Linked DNA regions of Homo sapiens: regions 1, 2, 3 and 5 are each linked to region 4. Evidence: promoter capture Hi-C in human tissues and cell types (Jung and others, 2019). All regions are on one chromosome and are shown on one strand. The core of a region is centred on a gene start or on the middle of the fragment in contact, and the rest is flanking DNA. Distances in the headings are between cores, read along the strand shown.

Region 1 (2,838 bases), core at 309-2,808, 150 kb before region 4:
GTGTGCGTGCATGCGTGTGTGTGTGTGTGCGCGTAGCACACAGGAGCAGGTACAGAAGAAAGAAGGTGAGTTCACAAAATCCAGAGAATTCTAACATCCTTCAGTGTGTGTGGGGTGAAGTGAAATGAAGGGGGAAATAGATAACCCCAGGAAAACTCCAGGTCTGGAAGTCCCTAACTACATACTATGCCACAGGACCTGAGAAGAGGGCCATGTTTCAGGGAACTGTGCTGCTGTTTTGGGAGAAAGGTGAAGGCCCAAAGGCGTAGAATATAAATCTGGCAAAAGAGAGATCCGAGGTACAAGTCATTACCGTTTCTCAGCACTCCCCCTCCTATCTATTGAGTACAGAAAGGACTACATTCAGTTCCAACACCCAGCCCAAGCCATTCTCACAGAAGAGAATCAATACTATCAAACTGAAACCTGTGGTAAAATAACAGGATAACAGCCACTTCTAACAGATGTGTTTAACTTTAAAAAATTTATAAAGAAATATTTACATTAAAAGAACTACTATAAATTTAACAATTCCTTTCAGTTTTCTTATGAAATTAACTATTTCTAAAAATTAGCATTTCATACAATAATCTCTATGAATTCTTCCATCTGTTTATCTTTAAACAGAGATATCTGAAATATTCACAAAACATTAGTGCCGTTTATTTTTGTGTGATGCAAATTTGTGATTTGCTCATTTCAGTATGGCTTGGATTTCTTATAAAATCAATAATTAAAGAATTTTAAAACATATATATATAAAATAAAAATGCAACTTTAAAAATACAGTACATATTTATGTAGCCTTAGGATGGGAACAAGGCAAAAATCAACCTAACGTTCTTTCTTGTCATTCTTATTCTCTCCACATCTTAGTCCCCTCCCCCAAAAAAATTTATGTGAAAAAAACATTTCAAAGATTCACTCAAAAAATTAAAATATATGAGTTATCATTTTCTGTTCAGGCTATAAATGCTATCTCCTAGACAAAAACTTGATGGACTGCCTCAAAAACTTAATCACATATGTCACCATTAAGTCACAAAACCTAAAAAGTTATGTTTGAGATTTCCAAGTCATCAAAAGTAGAAGTTTGCTTTTTATTATCCAAAACAGATCCAAAAGTCTAACCTAATATAAAGGTGTGCATCAATAGGAAGCTATGACCATTAGCCTCCAATACAAAACCCTCATGAGGGTCCTATACTCAAGCCTTAGTTGCTCTTATATACACAAATGGACCCTATTCATCTCCTAAGTAGCTTAGTACCAAAAAAATTTTTAGAGAAACAGATGGAAAAGGCCAGAATCACATTGTTACTATGTTGTTTTCCCCTCTGACAGCCTTTTATATAGCTTGATAAAACTAGTTTAATGATGAACTGAAGTTAACACATTTTTCCTACTAAACTTAAAACCAAAGTAAGTCAACCAGAACCAAAACCTTCAGAATTCCATGCAGTAGCTTTTTACAAAGTGTATTCAGAAGAGTGCTAATGGATAATGAGCAAAAAAGTTCCATGATCCCTATACTTCAATCAAAATCATCTCAATACAATTTTGGAAAGATTTTCACAAAATCCAAAGTCCAAAGGATAACACACAAAAAGCATTTTTTGGAAAATGAAATATAGTAAATGTTCTATTTCTTAGGCTGGGTGAGTTTTGTTATGTTGTTTGAATGCAAAACAAAGATGATATAGAAGTACTAGCTCTAAGAGAATAAAGCCACAGTATTTAAACTGTGGCCAGACATGATGGCTTATGCCTGTACACCCAGCACTCTGGGAAGCTCAGGCGGAAGGATCTCTTAAGACCAGGAGTTGTAGGTTGCAGTAAGCTATGATCAGGCCACTGCACTCCAGCCTGGGCAAGATCCTGTTTCTAAAAATATAAAAAATAAACCTAATGTGGTTTGTATAACTGTCCCCTCCCAATCTCATACTGAAATGTGATCCCCAGTGTTGGAGGTGGGGCCTGGTAGGAGGTGTCTGGGTCATGGGAGAGGACCCCTCATGAATGGGTTGGTGTCCTCTCCACAGTAATGAATTCACATGAGATCTGGCTGTTTAAAGCCAGGCATGGTGGCTCCCAGCACTTTGGGAGGCTGAGGCAGGCAGACTGACTGAGCCCAGGAATTTGACACCAGCCTGGGCCACATGGCGAAATCTCATCTCTACGAAAAATAATTAGCCAGGTGTGGTGGCGCCTGCCTGTAGTCCCAGCTACTGGGATTGCTTGAGCCTGGGAGGTCAAGGTTGCAGTGAGCCATAACTGCACCAATGAATTCTAGCCTAGGCGACAGTGAGACCCTGTCTTTAAAAAAAAAAAAAAAAAAAAGGCCTGGTACCTCCTCACTCCCCACTCTCATCATGTGAGTATCCTGCTCTCCCTTTGCCTTCTGACATGATTGGAAGCTTCCTGACACCCTCACCAGAAGGTAGGCAGCTGCTGGTGTCATGCCTGCACAGCCTGCAGAACCATGAGGCAAAATAAACCTCTTTTCTTCATAAATTATCCAGTTTCACATATTCCTTTATAGCAACACAGGCTAACGTATTTCTAATTCAAACTTTGAATCCAGGTTCTAGCACTTAATAATACATGTAACATTGTGCTTTACTATATTCTGTCTTCCTCCCTTTCATATCCAAGCTTCTAGAAAAGAGGAGTACTTATTTCTCCAGACTTCATCATGGTGCCTAGCACAAAGGAGTTCAAAAAAATGTTTAATAAAGTTTTTCAAATTTAACAGCCTTTGAATCTATAGGGCAAAATTGGTTTTAAGACTTTTCCAATTTAAGCACACTACAGAGAACATCGAAACACTCTATTATT
Region 2 (2,932 bases), core at 340-2,839, 140 kb after region 4:
AAGGGAAATGCAGGGAAAACCTCCTAAGACTATGAGTGGATGTTGCAAGTGTGGAAAGCCAGAGCATTTTAAGAGAGAATGTCCATTGTTGGACAGCTGATCCTGAGGTTAAATTGGTCAACAACTGAAATGGATAAAGACAAGCTATCTTAATTTTTGTTGTGTTTTTGTTTGTTTTTGTTTGTTCGTTTGTTTTTTGAGACAGAGTCTCACTCTGTTACCCAGGCTGGAGTGCAGTGGCATGATCTCGGCTCACTGCAACCTTCGTCTCCCAAGTTCAAGTGATTCTTCTGCCTCAGCCTCCTGAGTAGCTGGGATTGCCAGTGTGTGCCCAGCTATATATATGCCCAGCTAATATATATATTTTGTTTTTTTGTTTGTTTGTTTGTTTTTATTTGCAGAGACGGGGTTTCACCATGTTGGCCAGGCTGGTCTTGAACTCTTGACCTCAAGGAATCCGTCCACCTCAGCCTCCCCAAGTGCTGGGATTACAGGTGTGAGCCACCTCCTAGATACCTTTAAATAGATGAAGATGAGCTACTTTTTACTGAAGAAAGATTCTTCAGTGGAGGCGAACCTAGCGGCTCACTCCTGTTGGCAGTGGGTTACCAGTTGTGTGGAATTTGAAACTAATTTATACGTTCGTGAAATTCTTAAATTGTGTGGTCAACCAGACATCCCAGGGCTTCAGACAGGTCGAAGCCATCCTCCAAAAGGTGAATGATAGCATGTGTTCACCAGAAGCACTTAATGAGACATGGTACAATTTTACATCTCCTCTTTGACTCTGTTGGACAGTTGTACATGGTGCTAAACAATACTGAATATTGTATTTTTCTTCCCCTGATTTTGCTACTACAGAAAGCTTAATTTAAAAGGTGGCTGATATCCTGTTTCTTAAGACACTGATAATAAATACACTAAAAAGGGAATATGGATGTGTTTATAGGAAAAGCTAATAGTTTGCTTGTGGGCATTCTAAATGGTGGATGACAAGCTTAACTTTAAACGTTTTTTTTTTAATATTTATGTTTTTTTTCTAGTGAGTGGGTCTCCAGGCTTCTATGACTTGTGTTACCAGGCTAAAGATAAAGATGGAATCCTCGTTAAATCAGACCATGCCAGTCTCAAAATTGAGAGACTGATCACAAGGGAGAAATTGTTAAATGAAATAAGTGGAAGACCATTGTCCCAATGCTGTCTTTCTACTTTCAGTTCCTGTGTAATAAACTACAACCTAACTTAGTATGCAAATAAACGAAAACCCAATTTAGGAGTGTATTTTTTGGTATAGATAGCTGGGTCTCAGCCAGTCACAAGCACTGAGCTTCAGCCAATTCCAGGCAGCCAGCAGATCACAGCATGTCGAAATGAGGCACACACCTTACTGTAATCAAGTGGAGGAAAGAATCTCAGAACTTGACTATCTTTCTGAAATAAGACAGGCAGACAAGAATAGAGAAAAAATGTAAAGGGACAAACAAAACCTCCAAGAAAGATGGGATTATGTAAAAGACCAAATCTGTGACTGAATGGGGTGCCCGAAAGAGATGGGGAGAACAAAACCAAGTTGGGAAACATACTTCAGGATATCATCCAGGAGAACTTTCCCGACCTAGCAGGACTGGCCACCATTCAAATTCAGGAAATCCAGAGGACCCCAGTAAGATACTCCATTCGGAGATCAACCCCAAGACACATAATTATCAGATTATTCAAAGTTGAAATGAAAGAAAAAATGTTAAGGGCAGCCAGAGAGAAAGGCCAGGTCATGTACAAAGCAAAGCCCATCAGACTAACAACAGAGCTCTCAGCAGAAGCCAGAAGAGACTGGGGGCCAATATTAAATATTTGTAAAGAAAAGAGTTTCCAACCCAGAATTTCATATCCAGCCAAACCATGCTTCATAAATAAAGGAGAAATAAGATCCTTTTCAGGCAAGCTAATGCTGAGGGACTACACCACCAGGCCTCCCTTGCAAGAGCTCCTGAAAGAAGCATTAAATGTGGAAAGGAAAAACCAGTACCAGCCACCACAAAAGCACACTGAAGTACAGAGACCAGTGAAACTATGACACAACCACACAAAAAAGTCTGCAAAATAACCAGTTAGCATCATGATGACAGGATCAATTTCACAAATAACAATATTAACCTTAAATGTAAATGTGCTAAGTGCCCCAGTTAAAAGACACAGAATGGCAAGCTGGATAAAGAATCAAGCCACATTGGTATACTGTCTTCAAGAGTCAATCTCACATGCAAAGACAAAAATAGACTCAAAATAAAGGGATGGAGGAAAATTTACGAAGCAAATTGAAAATAGAAAAAAGCAGGGCTCACAATCTTAGTTTCTGACAAAACAGGCTTTAAACCAACAAACATCGAAAAAGAAGGGCATTACGTAATGGTAAAGTTCAACAAGAACCAACTATCCTAAACATATATGCACCCAATACAGGAGCACCCAGATTCATAAAACAAGTTCTTAGAGACCTTCAAAGAGACTTAGACTCCCACATAATAACAGTGGGAGACTTTAACACCCCACTGATAATATTAGACAGATTATTGAGACAGAAAATTAACAAAGATATTCAGGACTTGAACTCAGCTCTGAACCAAGTGGCCCTGATTAATATCTACAGAACTCTTCACTCAAAACAACAGAATATACATTCTTCTCATCACCAGGCATGGCACTGACTCTAAAATTCATCACATAATCATAAGTAAAACACTCCTTGGCAAATGCAAAAGAACTGAAATCAGAACAAGCAATCTCTCAGACCACAGCACAATCAAATTAGAACTCAAGAAACGCACTCAAAACCACACAACTACATAGAAATTGAACAACCTACTCCTGAACGACTCTGGGGTAAATAATGAAATTAAGGAAGAAATTAAGAAGTTCTTTGAAACTAATAAGA
Region 3 (2,744 bases), core at 219-2,718, 220 kb before region 4:
AAAAACATTACAATGAAAAAATAATTTGGATAATCCTTTCATACTGGCTTCTACTTTTTCCATGCAGGCCTGGCAAAAATTCCAGCTAATCTAGATTTCTCAGGCGTAAAGCATGTGATTTAGTTCAAGGTACAAGGGGTGACTATCATGATACTGAATTGTATAGGTGGTCTGGTAAGTCCCTTTCATTATGTATAAAGTAACGAACCATTTATAATGTTGTAAGTTATATTTTGTGTCGGTTAATTTTACTGAATCACCCTTACTACTACTTGATAACTGAAGCTGTCCCTTTTTTGTATCCTCTACAACGGTGTTATTCAAAAGTGCGGACATGCAATCTGTGTCAGTCTCGCAATGAGACAAGGACCTCTTGCCAGAAGGTGAATCAATTGCTTCACTAATCATACTGATTAGTACAGCTGACTTTCCGTAAAGGAGGCAGTGCACTTATCTATATTCCAAGGCAGGCTGTTTATCTTGTTGCAGAACATAAACTGACACTCTCACCAATCTGCTTGACCATACTTTGAATACGTCATCTGGTAAAGTGTCAATGAAAATTATTTGGGAGTATGTTTCAAATGGTCGTTAAAAAACACAAACTTAGAGTCATGTATTGAACAAATGGAAGGAAATAAAACTGTCTGTCATCTCCCCTGTGCTCTACTGTGTCTACCTACAAGAGTCTTGTGCCTGATCATCCTGAAACCACTGGAAAGCAGAGGGCATGGAGGTATGCACAGCTGTGAGCGAAATCTTGGTCTTCAACAAAAACAGAATCACCAGAGTTCTGCCTCAATTTACCGTGTCTCTGTATATTTCCGAAACTTTATAGTAACTACTAAATGACATATAACTGCACAACTAAACTTCTTTTAAAACAGCCAACATTACCAAAATGGAGATGTTAAAGATCTAAGTGAAATCTAACATGCACAGAATATTTTACTTCTGGTTCATAATTTCATTAAACTTCTTTCTAAAAGTATTTGAATTTCTCTCCATTAACTTACCCTTCATAGACTGATGGTGCACAAAGAGAAGCTTCAGTTCCTTGAACCGGGCTTAAGTGATTCAATTCTGAAAATGCCTCTGCTGCAACTAAGAGATCCTTTGTTTCTGCATCTTCTAAATTGCCTATAAGTCATACAAATAAGAATATTATTTATGCTAAATATTTAGTGATTACTGATAGTCTTGCATTATTACTTTTTAAAAAGTTGTTGGGTCTGCTTTTTTGTTCTTTTAGGTTTGCTGCTGTGTTATCAGACTGCTAACACTTTCTTCTTTTTTTTTTTTTGAGATGGAGTCTTGCTGTGTCGCCCAGGCTGGAGTGCAGTGGCGCTATCTTGGCTCACTGCAAGCTCTGCCTCCCAGGTTCACGCCATTCTCCTGCCTCCGCCCCCCGAGTAGCTGGCACTACAGATGCCCGCCACCATGCCCTGCTGATTTTTTGTATTTTTAGTAGAGACGGGGTTTCACTGTTTTAGCCAGGATGGTCTCGATCTCCTGACCTCGTGATCCACCCACCTGGGCCTCCCAAAGTGCTGGGATTACAGGCATGAGCCACTGCACCCGGCCAACACCTTCTTCTTCTAATTCTCTGAACCTAGCTCAAGAGCCCCCCTTAACCTCTCGCTTTTCACTTTTTGCTGAACAGGCACTAATGCAACTGTTTTATATACATTAACTTACTTAATCCTCAACATTCAAAAAAAGTAGATAAGAAAACTGAAGCCTAAGGTTATACTGCGTATCCCAGCTCATGACGCATACTCAGTAAGTAGCTGAGCTAGGATTCAAATCTAGCTTCACTATAGAGTTTGTGTTGTATGAAACCCCACCCACCACAAACACAATAAAGATTTCTGGCCAGGCACGGAGGCTCATACCTGTAATCCCAGCACTCTGGGAGGCTGAGGCAGGCAGATCACGAGGTCAGGAGTTCGAGACCAGCCTGGCCAACATGGTGAAACCCCGCCTCTAATAATACAAAAATTGGCTGGGCATGGTGGCACGTGCCTGTAATCCCAGCTACTCGGGAGGCTGAGGCAGAGGTTGCGGTGAGCCGAGATCACACCACTGCACTCCAGCCTGGGCAACAAGAGCGAAACTCTGTCTCAAAAAAAAAAAAAAATAAATACAAATTTCTATTTGAGACTGCCTAATATTGTAAGAATAATCAGTGAAGATAATGCTATGAACATTCTTTTAACAGCTACCATTTAAACATGTTAGTAGAACAAGGCACATCAAAAGAGCAATGTAGGCCAGGACCGGTGGCGCATGCCTGTAATCCAGCTACTTGGGAGGCTGAGGCAAGAGAAGAGGTTGCAGGAGCTGAAATAGCCCCACTGTACTCCATCCTGGGCGACAGAGCAAGACTCTGTCTCAAATAAGTAAGGCAGTGTAAATTTCTAGACATATGCTATTTATGGGCATGGTCCTAAAGTTCTTAGAGTAATTAATAATGCCCATGCTTACTAAGTAAAGATATCGTAGTCCAAACTTCAGTGGACTCTCATCTTAAACTACTTAAGATGCAGATTTTTATGTAAGTATGTAGTTTTACAGCTTTAGAGTTAGGAGTTACCTTTAAATAACCTTGTTAAAAACGTGTGTAGGGTAAGAAACATACAAATAGGTTCAGTTTTCTGACCCACCAATTCTAGGTGAAGTCTCTCCCATTTACTAGTGTTCCCCTGGCCCTCTTGTTAACCAAACTGGATTCTAAGTGTTTG
Region 4 (2,744 bases), core at 8-2,507:
TGTGTAATGTTCAGAAATATTTTAAGAGTGAAAACAAATATTTTCAGAACGACTCACTACTCTGAAAAAAATAACACACTTCATCTGTATGAAATGTACAATAAAAGACAAATACTTGATAATGTTGCATTTGAATATAGGAAAAGAATTGGAAATTTAGGGTTTTACTACAAGCCCCAGAAGAGTTAGGCTGTGGGAACAGGGTCGTTGATGTGAGATCCTGTTGCCATACACTTAGAAATGTGGAGTGTTATGTGAAAATAATTAAACACAGGCACTAGGGAGACTGAGGTGGGGGGATCGCTTGAGCCCGAGTCCAAGACTCCATCATACACATGTACATACACACATGAATGAATAAACAACCAACCAAAACGTAACTCATGCTTGTCTTGTAAATTAATAACTTAAAGGGAAACAAAACAGCCTTAAACAACCACGAACCCACCAATTAACCTCTGGTTACATAACCAGGAGATATCTGGCTGCACAGTCTATATGGGGTGACTACATAACTGTACACGATCAATTATTTAATTGGGTTTGCTTCCTCGGGTTCCTTACAAAAAACCCTTTCCTTCCCCAAACCACAAACCACGCTGGTGGCTTCCTAACTCACGACTCTCTGCTCAAATAAACTCCTTAATATTTTAACGGCGCCTCAGTTTTCTTTCTAACAGGAGAAAGGAGGATTTGGAGACTTCACAGACCACAGCTCCTCCCACGCAGGAACCCCGAACCCCAAGTCGGGACTCTCCCCTGAGGACCCTCCCGTCGGCACCGCACGATCCGAGGGAGATGCGGGTCTACAGAGGCAGAGCTGCCCAGAAAGGGTTCCGGGCCTGGCCGAAGCGGCGGGGCAGGGACAAGCCAGGCGGCCCGGGGTCTGGCTGCGGGTCCAGCCCCGCATCCTGTGCCACTAAGGCCGCGAGGCGCCGGCGGAAACTCGGGTCGGCACCGCGGGGAGGTCCGGGTTCGCCACAACCGCTTCCTGGCGGTTCCCTTTTCCCCTTCCCGAGACACCTGGCCGGCACACTCACCATTTCCCAGTCTCCGGTGTCTGGGGTCCTCCCTAAGGACCTTCCGGGACCTGCAGGTCCCAGAGCAACAGAAGCTGCCGCGGGACCACTTGGACCTCCCAGGGATAAGGGGAAGGAGCAGCGGAGACGCACCGAGCTCGCCACATTCGCGCTGCCCAACACAAAAGCCGCGCCAGGTCCCGGAAGCTGCTCCCTCCTTTCGCGGCGCGCTTGAGAGTACAGTCCCCTTCCCAGCGCCCGATTGGACAGGGCCTTAGGCCCCGCCCCTTCAGTCCTGAGTGACGGGAGATGCAATCAGACACGGCGCTGAGTGAGGCCAGGTTCTTTCCCTGCAGTCCTTTTCTAAGGCATGGATTCTGCCCTGTGCTGAGACCTGGCGCCCCCCGGGGGACTTTCCCATTCAAGCTCATACACAGGATTATGTCCATTTATGAGTAATATTTGTGATATTTACAATTGGAAACACTATGATGACAATTATTCTAAAATTTCAGATTTCACAACCTTCCTGGCCTCTGGTCTTTTGAGGAGGCAGCCTGAATTTTTTTTTTTTTCTTGCTTCTAGTGGGATTAGAGGCAGCTTGAATTTTGAAAAGACAATGTCCTCTCAGGTAGCAACGCCCCATAGAAATAAAATGTGAGCCGCGTGTGTTCCAGTAGCAATAGAAAAGAAAACAACACGTGAAATTGATTACAATGATTTATTTAACCAAATATATCCAAAAATATTGTTTCAATATATGATCGATGTTAAGCTCGCGCCTAATTGAAGAGACTACCCAAACAGGTTAAGTGTGAGCAGCAAGGCTAGTTTACTCACTCGGGTGCGAGCGGGCTGAGTCCGAAAAGAGGGTCAGCGGAGGGTCGTGGGATTGGAGTTAGTTTTATAGGTGAGGGGTAAGCAGTGGAAAGTTACAGTCAGGGGCCGTTTATTACCGGCGGGGGAAGAATGTCACAAAGTACATTGTCACAAGAGGGAGGGGTCACAGTGTCACTAGGCTGATTGATCAGTTAGGGTAGTGCACGTCACAACGGTAAAATGCTGCAAGGTTGGCTAATCAGCTAAGACAGAAACTAGCCGTTTTTCTTCCTTTGTGGTTTTCCTGTTGTCCCAGACTTTCTGGCTCCAGGACCTTCTGGATGTACACGTGTGGGTCACAGGGATCACAATGGCTTGACCATGGCGCAGCCTGCTCAGACGGCCTTACAATCGATATATTATTAATGAAAAATCACTCTATATATTAAGCTTCCAGCATGTTTCAATTCAGCCTGCACATTTGGATACACGTGTCTGGTTTTACCACTTTATTTTAAGGTTGTTCGGGAATGTCTGCCTGTTCCTTTCATGTAACTGTTCATTATTTATTGATTACTATTTCTTAATTTCACTTATCTCAGTGAGAGTTGCCAAATAGTGGTTTTCTAATTATTTTCTCTACAGGTATTAGTTCTCATTCTTCTATTAAAAATGGCGTTTTCTCATGAACTCTCTCCATTACATTAAAACCTACCCTATTAGGAAAGGAAGAATAAAAGCTTGATTCTCCCTTTAATCAATTGTCATAACAATGACGGCGTGGCCTCAGCAAACAAAAAAAATGTGAGTGACTTTTTTCTAACCTTATTTTTTGTGTATTTAATGAGATTCCATACACTGCAGTCTGTATCTATTTTTTGAGCTCAAATTATCCCTTTTTTTTT
Region 5 (2,737 bases), core at 185-2,684, 240 kb after region 4:
GTACTGACTTATCAAAATCTCTGTACTGTGCTCGCTATGGCATTTACTAGGGACTGCAGGAATTGAAAGATGAAGACCAAACCTCATTAGGTACTGGATTAACAGCATCCCCTTATGTGTTATACTGGTTAAATGTCCAAATTTTAATAAGAAATACTGGTTTTACCTCCTTTGTGTTTGGAAATGGTCACAGTACACAGCAGATGCTGACATGTATGTGTTGAGCATCAGGGTAAACAGGCGTGTGCCACATTTCTGGTGGGGCAAAAGCAAGTTATGGAGATGCCCCCTAACTGGGTAACCTGGCTAACTCCTTCCCATCCCTAGCCCTCCCTTCTCCAAGTTTAAAGTCATGTTGGCTGGGCACAGTGGCTCATGCCTGTAATCCCAGCACTTTGGGAGGCTGAGACAGGAGGATCACTTGAGGTCAGGAGTTTGAGACCAGCCTGGGCAACATGGCGAGACCCTGTCTCTACAAGGAAATACAAAACTTAGCTGGGTGTAGTGGCATGCACCTGTAGTCCCAGCTGCTCAGGAGACCGAGGTGGGAGGATGGCTTGAGCTCAGGAGTTTGAGGCTGCAGTGAACTACGACTGTGCCACTGCATTGAAGCCTGGGTGACAAGGCAAGACCCTGTCTCTAAAAATAAAAATAAAATAAAGTCATGTCAAATGAACTGTGCAGAAAGCAAACTGCTCAGCTTCCGACATTCTGCTGAGACATGGTAATAAGAGTGTCTACTGTTTTTCACAGTTTTCTGTTGGGTAAGGAGCAACTAAACAAAAGCAGGAGCCACACATCCTGTTCCCATGGGAGGGGATGATGCTGTCATAACTAAATCTTGTGCCAGCCAGTGGAAAGTGTTAGGAGGGAAAGTGAAGGAGATATGGCCAGAAAACATGGCCAAAGACAGCAACTGGGCTAGAGAGAGGCGAGTAAGATCACCTGCTGGACCAGCCCCCAGCCCTGACTCTGACTCCTCAGAGCACCCGAGTAAGCAAGTCTTACACAAAAACACGAACGAGAACATTCGAGGAAATTCTGGAATGACTCACCACGTAGATCTGTGACAGGACTGAAATTATCTGTGCTTTCTTCCCTCCACTTCCTAACATTTCTAAAATATAACCATTGCTGCGATGATTATTAAATTGAAAAATTCTCTGTAAAATAAAAGAGCAGAGAGATCTCCTTTTTCACAAGAGGGGAACTTAGACATGCTGAGAGGCCCATCAATGGGGACTCATGGGCCTTTGTTTCCTGCTATCGTCTGCACAAAGCTTCCTGAAGGTGGCCTGATGACAGTAGACCCAGTGGGCGGCTGGGACCACAGGGAAGGAGGAGAAATGGGGCGTCTCTTAAGCTCACGCTCTGCCTATTTTAGCTTTTCTGGGCTGGGACTGAACATCCTGTGTGGCAGTCAGAAAGCTGGCTGGGGTCCTAAGAAAGCTGCCCTGTAGCCTACAGAGGCAAACAGGGGATTTTCAAGGACTCCTGTAGAAACCACTCACCGGGGGTAGCTGGAGGGTGGTCACCTGCTGTGTGTCCCGCACATTCTCTTCCTGAAGAAGGAAAGCATCTTGCAGAACTGAAAGAGATCAGAAAATGGTGTCCTAAAGTGGGCCAGGGCCAGGCCTGGTGCTGATACCTTCTGAGCTTCCTGCGGCTCTTCATTTCCATTTTGGTAGCAAAGAAAATCACAAGAGAGGCACCAACAGGGAACTGTTTCATGGTGCTTTTCATAAAACCCCAGTCTCTGTTCTTAACTGTAAAATGAGGATTACAAAATGACGCACATGAAAAGTACTCTGTAAACCACAAAGATTGCTGCGACTTTGTTTCCAGATATAACAAGGGGGGCTGTAACAGAGTGTGCCTGGGTTCATGATAGCACGGTCAATTAAATGAACTCTTTCACCTCGGGTAGGTCCCCGGACCTCAGCATTGTTATCCAAACTATGGGAAAATAAAGGTTAAAACTCTATGGAGTTCAGCCGTGTGTGGTGGTACATGCCTGTAATCTCAGCTATTCTTATTTTGGGGACTGAGGTGGGAGAATCACTTGAGCCCAGGAGTTCCAGACCAGCAGGGACAACACAGAGTATTTGTTTCTTAAAAAGAAAAAGAAAAAAAAAAAGAAGAAGAAAAAGAAAAAGCCGTAGAGTTGAGGAATCTATAAGGACTCTTAGGGTCTGGATGTGGTGGCTCATGCCTGTAATCCTAGCTCTTTGGGAAGCCAAAGTGGGAGGATTGCTTAAGCTCAGGAGTTCAAGACCAGTCTGGGCAACATAGGGAGACCGCATCTCTATTAAAAATAAAAAAACTGGGAAGCTGAAACAGAAGGATTGCTTGAGCCTGAGAGATGGAGGCTGCAGTGAGCCACAGCTGCACCACTGCACTCCAGCCTGGGTGACAGAACATGGCTCTGTCTCAAATGAAAAAAAAAAAAAAAAAAAGTAAGGGCTGTTGGCAATCAGAATTACTGTGGAACTCCATAAAAAAAGAAGGAAAATCCTGTCATTTTTGACGACATGAATGAACCTGAAAGACATGCTACGAGCAATAAGCCAGACACAAAAAGAAATACTGCATGTTCTCACTTAAATGTGGACTCTAAAAAAGTTGAACTCATAGAAGCAGAGATCAGAATGCTGGTTACCAGAGGCTAGGGAATGAGGGGACTGGGGAGACATTGGTCAAAGTGTACAAAATTTCAGTGACATGAGAGGAGTAAACT

Evidence for each region. Contacts are between HindIII fragments. The study calls those that stand out against the background at their distance.
Region 1: a contact is called between a fragment that was not itself captured here and the fragment with the promoter of ZNF670 in region 4, in 2 of the 25 tissues and cell types used here (adrenal gland and bladder).
Region 2: a fragment that was not itself captured here is called in contact with the fragment with the promoter of ZNF670 in region 4 in 2 of the 25 tissues and cell types used here (aorta and ovary).
Region 3: a fragment that was not itself captured here is called in contact with the fragment with the promoter of ZNF670 in region 4 in 2 of the 25 tissues and cell types used here (H1 embryonic stem cells and hippocampus).
Region 5: a fragment that was not itself captured here is called in contact with the fragment with the promoter of ZNF670 in region 4 in 1 of the 25 tissues and cell types used here (spleen).

Annotation. Positions count from the first base shown.
Region 1 is chr1:246,923,727-246,926,564 of GRCh38, forward strand. The region is part of intron 1 of AHCTF1 (AT-hook containing transcription factor 1); the gene reads right to left. Among named protein-coding and RNA genes, the nearest start is that of AHCTF1, 6.8 kb to the right of the region's middle. The HindIII fragment of the contact is 6,720 bases long and covers 1-2,838 here.
Region 2 is chr1:247,221,749-247,224,680 of GRCh38, forward strand. No RefSeq gene overlaps it. Among named protein-coding and RNA genes, the nearest start is that of MIR3916, 21 kb to the left of the region's middle. The HindIII fragment of the contact is 5,898 bases long and covers 1-2,932 here.
Region 3 is chr1:246,856,675-246,859,418 of GRCh38, forward strand. It overlaps AHCTF1 (AT-hook containing transcription factor 1), which reads right to left. Exons shown (of 36, transcript NM_001323342.2): 30 at 1,017-1,140. Among named protein-coding and RNA genes, the nearest start is that of LINC01341, 68 kb to the left of the region's middle. The HindIII fragment of the contact is 4,756 bases long and covers 1-2,744 here.
Region 4 is chr1:247,077,554-247,080,297 of GRCh38, forward strand. ZNF670 (zinc finger protein 670) reads right to left here and starts at 1,258. Exons shown (of 4, transcript NM_033213.5): 1 at 1,041-1,258. The coding sequence starts at 1,043. ZNF670-ZNF695 (ZNF670-ZNF695 readthrough (NMD candidate)) reads right to left here and starts at 1,258. Exons shown (of 7, transcript NR_037894.2): 1 at 1,041-1,258. RefSeq lists silencers at 1,121-1,434, 1,223-1,292. The HindIII fragment of the contact is 11,562 bases long and covers 1-2,744 here.
Region 5 is chr1:247,321,643-247,324,379 of GRCh38, forward strand. ZNF496 (zinc finger protein 496) reads right to left here. Exons shown (of 10, transcript NM_032752.3): 6 at 1,512-1,588. Among named protein-coding and RNA genes, the nearest start is that of ZNF496, 8.9 kb to the right of the region's middle. RefSeq lists an enhancer at 991-1,495. The HindIII fragment of the contact is 8,506 bases long and covers 1-2,737 here.